Linked DNA regions of Homo sapiens: regions 1 and 2 are each linked to region 3. The links are contacts of gene promoters, found by promoter capture Hi-C in blood cells and fetal thymus (Javierre and others, 2016). All regions are on one chromosome and are shown on one strand. The core of a region is centred on a gene start or on the middle of the fragment in contact, and the rest is flanking DNA. Distances in the headings are between cores, read along the strand shown. Region 1 overlaps ZNF143 (zinc finger protein 143). Region 2 overlaps ZNF143 (zinc finger protein 143). Region 3 holds the start of AKIP1 (A-kinase interacting protein 1).

Region 1 (2,700 bases), core at 76-2,575, 620 kb before region 3:
TGGGCAGCTGTCACCTCTAGAGAATTAAGAAAGCCTCGTCCCTCCCTTAACTCTAAGTTCTTTTGAGTTCAGACTAGGGCACATTTTCTTTGTAGTGGCCTCAAGCTTTGTCTGGGGCAAAGCAGGGTGGTTTTTTTGGACGGAGAGGTTTTCCTTGAGCACTGTCTGGATCAAATTCCAGAGGGTTATGCCCCACCTGGTTCTGTTTGCTAGCGTTTACTCTTATTTCAAGTGTCTTTTTGGGATTTTTCAACCTTGGACGTTTCCATGTCCTGCACTGTGAAGAGACCCTATAGCAGCTTTCCTAGCAATTGTCAGCACACCAACTGCACCCTTCCCCTGGAGGAAACAGGCCACCTTGCCAGGCTCCTGAGGCCCCATTCCCAAGAAGGCAGGTCAGGTTAAACTAGCAGCGACCCTAGGCCCTTTTCTCTGGGTGCCAGAGGTCATTTTCTTTTGAGCTGAGGGATAATCAGGCTAACCAAAACAGTCCAGGTTAAGCCCTGCCCAATCCAACTGGCAAAGGTGCTGGGAGTAAAGAGAAACACCCTGGAATTTGAGCAAAGTCAGATCTAAGGGGCCATGGGAGGCTGACAGCTTGGTTTTTGGTCCTGGGAAGTACAGCAGCCTGGCTGGGCCCAGTGGGGAGGAGCTCCTGGCCAGCAGCCAGGACCAGCACTGGGAGGCTGGGCGCCACCCTGCCTGCGATTTTGCAGATTCTGGTCTTCTACCCCGCCCAACAGCCCCTTTCTGAGCCTCAGTGGGCTTCCGGGGGGAGTTCTGTGTGGGTCTGTGTCTCTGTCAAGAATGAAGACTCGATCGGTGGTTGACTAGGGCTTTTGCTAATGTTATGCATCTGTAAAGGGTTCTGCAGGAAAAGTTCTGCCCAACCCTGAAGGGCTTCCGATTTCAAGTAAGTCACCATCCTTTTTAGCAAGATCATAGAACCTGATCAAAGATAACATTTATGTAAAATCAAACAGCACAACGTTTTCCCCTTTCTACTGTAAAGCTTGAAATGAAAAAGCCACATTTCAGCTCTCTGCAAATAAAGCTCGCTGAACTACAGTGCAGGAGGGGCTGCTGCGGAACACACCATCTTTTTTTTTTTTTTTTTGACCTTGGTGAACGCTGATTTTCCAGCATTAGAAAATGGTTTTTATACTGCTCAATTCATTAGGCAATCAGAAATCACCAAAGTTCATCTTGATAATCTCTGCCACAAATGAGCATTTGAGGAGGTAACTGTGGTGCAGTGAAAACACACTAGACTTGGAGCCAGAAAGTCTGGGTTCTCGTCTTGGTCCTGCCTCTCCATAGCTGTGAGGGCTGGTACGACAGTCAGCCTCCCTCCTGGACTCTTGGTTTCCTCATGTAAAAAACGGAGGTAGTAAATCCCATATGTCTCACAAAATTGTTGTGAATATATAAAAATATATGGAAAAGCACTTACTCTGTACTTGATAAACAACATCCTTTCAATATGTGTATTAGGTTACATTCCATTACATTTGCGATATTTTCTGCACCATTTCCCCCCAACCCCCCACCAATATGATAAATAAATAAATATAAAAGTAACATTTTAAAAATTGCTGTATTCAAAATTAATAATAAACTTTGGGGTAAATAAGCTTTAAAACAAAAGTACATAAGCAAAAATAAATAATTTACACCAACCCACTAACCTAATTTTCAGAGTAAAGCCATTTCCAATTACAGTACTGTTATCCCGGGCACCAGCCTGTGGTTAAACTTTGATGATTCATTATTTTTAAAAAACAGTAATAAAAATTGAATACTAAGCAAAATCTTTAACAAAACCACTGGATTTAACTTTTTAATTTTAAATAACCAAATTTTATAATTTTGTACATAATTCAATGTAATGCCAATATAATTAGCATTTCAGCTTGAAGAGCTGGTTTTTAACAGGGATGGGAAACTATAAATTATTCAAACAGTCTGCAAACCATGAGATACAAATAAAAATGGACAAGCATATAGTAGAACAAAAACCGCAGACACTCTACTAACTGGGGAAATATCTGAAGGCTTTACACCCTTTATTATCCATAATGGCTTTTGGAATTACGATTGTGTGACATATAGAACCTTTGATATTTTAGATACAGCCTTTATTTTTTTTTCCACGGGAAGTTAAAAATCCATCATAAGACTCCATAAGACTTTACTAGTCTTGCATGTAGACTCTAGGAGTTTGTGATCTGATAAAAGAGTAACATGAAAATTTACTGTATTGCCCTAATTTCATACTTCCTTGTACACAATGAATCACTCTGAGAATCTATTCCAAGGGTTATATACACAAAAGTGTCAAGAATAAAATGTTCTCCACTCTCGCATAAAAATGTGTACAGTGTATCAGGAATGGAAAACTTCTAATTTTCCTGGGCCCGGGCTTCATGGATTTCTGCTGCCAGAAGATGAAAGACTCCTTCTGCTTTATTGCTCCATTGTTCTGAGGATTAATCATCCAACCCTGGCGTTTCTCCTTGTTGGATTCTAGACGCTATTCTGATGGCTTCTTCCAGAGATGGCTGTTCTCCAAGCTGAAACAGGAACACACACATCAAACGCTAACAATTCAAAAGCCACAGTCAAGAAAATGCCAAAGAAATGTTATATGCCAGAAGTGAAACTTCTCTCTGTAATTCTGACACTTGGGATTGTTAAAAT
Region 2 (2,700 bases), core at 118-2,617, 600 kb before region 3:
CAAGAATACCATTCGGATTCTACAGTCACAAACCTTCTCTCTCTCCTAATCTCTCTGCACGTAGTCTCTGTAAGCAGACTACTGAAAAACCTCAGGGTTTCCAAACTTTGTGCCCTGATATTTCAAAGCTTTCCTCAATGGGGACCCAGCCTGCCTTTCAAGCCCAGGTTCACAGAAAGATTTAATTTGTTTGGCTTTTGGTGGATACTTACATGCTGAGTCCCATCCTGGGATATGAGTGTAACTTGTTGACTCAGTCCAGATTGGGTTACTGTGGCTACTTGTGTAGAAACAACGTCGTCCCCTTCTACACCTGTAACATACGTAATCTGGGACCCTTTAAGAACATCTTCACCTTGACCTGTTTAAAACAAATGAATCATTTATTTGACCAACCAACCAATTTGTTTAGAAAATAGGACATTTTAAATATTAAAGAGAAAATTACATAATTAAAATGTACATGTATTATATTCTAAGTCACGAAAATGGCTTCCAGGACCTCCTTCCAATTCCTCCACCTCCACTTTTGCAAAGGCAAACTACATCAAAGCAGACCAAACAAAAAATCTTTCTGCATCAAATTTAAGTGTTCTGATTTTCAGGGACCTGTTTTATTCTCTTAGTTGGAGTAATTACTTGATACTATATGTGTATTAGGGGCGGAGAGGGGAGGAACTGTACAGGAAAACTAGCAAATAACCCTTCAAATACAGCAAGTATGCACTAAATTCTCGCATTCACTTAAGAGGCTGTTAGGCCAGGCACGGTGGCTCATGCCTGTAATCCCAGGACTTTGGGAGGCTGAGGTGGGTGGATCACGAGGTCAGGAGATCGAGACCATCCTGGCTAACACAGTGAAACCCCGTCTCTACTAAAAATACAAAAAATTAGCTGGTCATGGTGGCGGGCGCCTGTAGTCCCAGCTGCTCGGGAGGCTGAGGCAGGAGAATGGCATGAACCCGGGAGGCAGAGGTTGCAGTGAGCCGAGATCACGCCACTGCAGTCCAGCCTGGGCGACAGAGCAAGACTCCGTCTCAAAAAAAAAAAAAAAAAAAGCTGTTAAAGGCCAGGCACAGTGGCTCACACCTGTAATCCCAGTCAGTACTTTGGGAAGCCAAGGTGGGCAGATCACCTGAGGTTGGGAGTTCGCGACCAGTCTGACCAACATGGAGAAACCACGTCTCTATTAAAAATACAAAACCAAGGCCGGGTATGGTGGCTCACACCTGTAATCCCAGCACTTTGGGAGGCCAAGGCGGGCGGATCATGAGGTCAGGAGATCGAGACCATCCTGGCTAACACGGTGAAACCCATTTCTACTAAAAATACAAAAAAAAAAAAAATAGCCGGGCATGGTGGCAGGCGCCTGTAGTCCCAGCTACTCAGGGGGCTGAGGCAGGAGAATGGTGTGAACCTAGGAGGCGGAGCTTGCAGTGAGCCGAGATTGCACCACTGCACTCCAGCCTGGGCGACAGAGCAAGACTCTGTCTCAATAACAAAAACAAACAAACAAACAAAAACACAAAATTAGGCGGGCCTGGTGGAGCATGCCTGTAATACCAGCTACTCAGGAGGCTGAGGCAGGAGAAATCACTTGAACCCGGGAGGCAGGGCTTGTGGTGAGCCGAGATGGCACCATTGCACTCCAGCCTGGGCAACAAGGGCGAAACTCCGTCTCAAAAAAAAAAAAAAAAAAAAAAAAAGAAGCTGTTAAAAGTGGTTAAGACTATTTTCATTTTCATAAACATTAACCACAAAGCCAGAATGGTTTGCAAACACACCCACTGATACTAAACTTGGTCTTTAGCACAACTGATTGATTGCAAACCATCAGTACACAATGACCTCACTGTGTAAAGACAATGTATGGCATATTATCTGAGGTATGGTTAATAATTTAGTGACATAAAAGGAACCTCCATCACTTCTTTATTTCATAAAGAACCAGTAAGTAAACAGCAATTTCAACAATCCATTACTACTATAATTGTCAACCAGGAAGATTCCTGGTCCCTCTCGTCTTTCATCACTTTCTACCTCCCATGAAGTCAGAAAGAGAGCAAAAAAAAAATGTTTCCCCCTCAAAGGACATAATATGCTAATCTAAGAGTACTTCTCAATTCAGTGGTTAATCCATGCACTCATATGGCTACAGTCATCAACGTGTAATTTCCATGACAGACATTACTTCATTCCTTTTTGTTCTGTTCCACAGCTATTTATATACCATTATTCCAACAGGTTACAAAACCCAGTGGATCATGTGAGAGAAAACAGAAATCCATCCCTATTCTTGGAAAAACAATCTTAGTTTAGTTTTGTTTTTAAATAAAATGTATATTATTATATTATAGACTATTTTCTAGAATATAGGAACTTCTGGGCTGGGTACGGTGGCTCACGCCTGTAATCCCAGCACTTTGGGAGGCCGAGGTGGGCGGATCACGAGGTCAGGAGATCGAGACCATCCTGGCTAACACGGTGAAACCCCGTCTCTATTAAAAACACAAAAAATTAGCCAGGCATGGTGGCGGGCGCCTGTAGTCCCAGCTACTCAGGAAGCTGAGGCAGGAGAATGGAATGAACCCGGGAGGCGAAGCTTGCAGTGAGCCGAGATCGCACCACTGCACTCCAGCCTGGGCAACAGAGCGAGACTCCATCTCAAAAATAAAAAAAAAAAAAAAAGAATATAGGAAC
Region 3 (2,700 bases), core at 90-2,589:
CTGACTTGAAGTATAGTCCATGAATTCAGCCATTGTTCTGAAGGAAGCACTAAGGGTTGGGGGTCTCTCTTCTCTCTATTTGAATAAATGGCACGTCACAGGTTAGCTCTAGGATTCCCTACTGGAGAATGAAGCCATTTTGGAAATAGTCTCCTTTTTACTTTTGGAAAGGCTCTGCAAGTTTATGTCAGAAAGAACGATGTTATTGAGAAAGAATTCCAACTCTAAAAGATAGACATGCAATTTATCCAGGATCTAAGAGACAGGCTTGCAGGCTTTCCTCTACTATCAGATGATAGCTGTAAGATTTTTTTTTTTTTTTTTTTTTTGAGACGGAGGTTTCGCTCTTGTTGCCCAGGCTGGAGTGCAATGGCGCGATCTCGGCTCACCGCGACCTCCGCCTCCCGGGTTCAAGCGATTCTCCTGCCTCAGCCTCCCTAGTACCTGGGATTACAGACATGCGCCACCACGCCCGGCTAATTTTGTATTTTTAGTAGAGACGGGATTTCTCCATGTTGGTCAGGCTGCTTTCGAACTCCCGACCTCAGGTGATCCGCCCGCCTCGGCCTCCCAAAGTGCTGGGATTGCAGGCATGAGCCACCGCGCCCGGCTAATTTTTTTTTTTTTTTTTAAGTAACCAACCAGGGCTGAACACTACCGTTATTCTACAGCTACCCAACAAGAATCTGTCAAATGTAAAGCGTTTTGAAAGGACTTTTCCATTCATTGTTCTGATCCTTTCCAGCTTCCGCTAAGGGAAGGTTTCCTCAGCTGCTTCTGCGCTGCGCACCCCTGGCTCCCAGCGGGCTACCGCGGCGCGAAGGACTGGGGCGGCCCCCGGCACAGCGACCCTCACCTCTCCCGGGAGAACGCGCTGCGGGCCGGCTGCCGGCTGTTTCTCTAGGTGGGGCGCCTCCCGGGCAAGGACCCCCATGCAGCCTTTGGGACGCTCCAGGGCATGCCAGTCCACCGCCCTCCTCTTGGCCCTCTCCAGCACTTCTAGAGCCAGCCTTGCTGAACGCTGCAGGGAACGTCGGTCCACCCCATTCAGCGCTGCGGCCGCCAAACAGTTGTCCATGGCTCCCTGAGTGGGCACACAACGTACAAACGCCGGCGGGTCAGCTGGGCCGCGGCGACCCTGCTCCAAATCCGGGTGGGAGCCCCAGCCTCGACCTCCCTGGAGACCACCGCTCCTGGTCCGCCCCCAACGCACACTCCAGCGGGAGCCCAGCCAGGACTAGGCCTAGCGCGCCCGCCCCTTCCATTTTCATCTACCCCTTCCGCTACTTAGGGAGCCCCCTCACCCGGCTCACTCGTCAAGGCGCATGCGCGCAACGCTATTCTAGGAAGAGGGACCAGGCCTAGCGCTCCCGGCGGCGCCGGCGCAGCTGGGCCATTGGCGGAAGGCGGGAGAGGCGGGAGAGGCGGGAGAAGTGGGGGAGGCGGGGCGGCTGGGCGGCCAAACACGCCTTCTGCGTCCCAGCCTTGGCGTCTGCGCGCGAGTTGCCTGGTTAACTGCTGAGCGCTGGAGGCGGGGCGCCGGGCGCTGGGGGCCGGGGGTCGGGGGTCGGGGGCCGGGGGTCGGGGGTCGGGGGCTGGGGGCTGAGGACTGAGTCGAGCCAGCAGCCCAGGGCATCTGTCCACGCTGTCAGAGGAGCCTCTGGGCGTGGGGCTGGCCCTTAGAGGGCTACTGCGCTGCTTAACTTGGTGGGTATAAAGGCAGGTCTCCTGTTGAGCTAAAAAATTATGGGGTACCAGCTAGGTAGGCAACATAGCGAGAACCCGTGTAGACACACACACACACACACACACACACACTAGCCAGGAGTGGTTATGGGGTACCAGCTAGGTAGGCAACATAGCGACAACCCGTGTCCACACACACACACACACACTAGCCAGGAGTGGTTATGGGGTACCAGCTAGGTAGGCAACATAGCGACAACCCGTGTCCACACACACACACAGTAGGAGGAGTGGTGGCGCGCATCTGTAGTCCCAGGTACTCGGGAGGGTCGAGGTGGGAGGATCGCTTGAACCCGGGAAGCGGAGGTTGCAGTGAGACGAGATCGCGCCACTGCACTCCAGCCTGGGCGACAGAGGAAGACTTCGTCTCAAAACAAAAACATCATGGGGAATAAGGCAAGTGCCTCCCGCGCCTCTTTCTGCTTGGTCTACATTTTGGGGTGTCGCTACTCTTGTTTGAGGAGGTGATTAGGCCAAACTGTGTGGCTGCCAAGGTGGCCTTTGGAGAAGGGAACAGCTCGGGATTGAGGCGAGACGGAGGCGGGGCTGTCTGCAGATGTTCCTGGCCCCCGGGGCAGGGGGCGCCTGAGAAGTTGTAGGGTCTCTCATAATCCCTCAGCGCAGCTCTCTCTCCCCTCCAGTGGGAAGTACGGATTCACATATTTTTGGAGACCTGTTCTCTTGGGGTCTGACTCCATCTTTTAGGAAGACTGCACCATGTTTAAGTAAGGAACTGTGAATGCTTACTTAAACCATGTTTAAGTAAGGACCTGTCACTCCACTCCGCTGGTTATTTGGTAGGAGATACAGCCCAGGCTCTCACTGCTAATTAGTGACTCAGCCGCACCACCCAGCGCAAAGCAAAGCGCCGATGCTTAGGAAGGTCCACTTTGAGGGACACGCTCAGTGGGGGTCACTTTAAGGAACACAAATAAATCCTCCTTTAAGTCTCCT

Evidence for each region. Contacts are between HindIII fragments. The CHiCAGO score rates a contact against its expected background, and 5 or more counts as called.
Region 1: a fragment that was not itself captured here is called in contact with the fragment with the promoter of AKIP1 in region 3 in 1 of 17 cell types (naive CD8 T cells); the score reaches 5.2 in naive CD8 T cells.
Region 2: a fragment that was not itself captured here is called in contact with the fragment with the promoter of AKIP1 in region 3 in 1 of 17 cell types (fetal thymus); the score reaches 5.8 in fetal thymus.

What each region holds. Positions count from the first base shown.
Region 1 is chr11:9,527,403-9,530,102 of GRCh38, reverse strand. ZNF143 (zinc finger protein 143) reads right to left here. Exons shown (of 16, transcript NM_003442.6): 16 at 1,579-2,573. The coding sequence ends at 2,490. Among named protein-coding and RNA genes, the nearest start is that of WEE1, 45 kb to the left of the region's middle. RefSeq lists an enhancer at 1-447. The HindIII fragment of the contact is 622 bases long and covers 1,015-1,636 here.
Region 2 is chr11:9,510,109-9,512,808 of GRCh38, reverse strand. It overlaps ZNF143 (zinc finger protein 143), which reads right to left. Exons shown (of 16, transcript NM_003442.6): 13 at 213-361. Among named protein-coding and RNA genes, the nearest start is that of ZNF143, 50 kb to the right of the region's middle. The HindIII fragment of the contact is 2,474 bases long and covers 131-2,604 here.
Region 3 is chr11:8,909,828-8,912,527 of GRCh38, reverse strand. AKIP1 (A-kinase interacting protein 1) reads right to left here and starts at 1,339. Exons shown (of 6, transcript NM_020642.4): 1 at 1,305-1,339; 2 at 857-1,084; 3 at 1-75. The coding sequence starts at 1,078. It also overlaps a transcript of DENND2B not described here. RefSeq lists enhancers at 1,035-1,124, 1,135-1,204 and a silencer at 1,295-1,574. The HindIII fragment of the contact is 8,527 bases long and covers 1-2,700 here.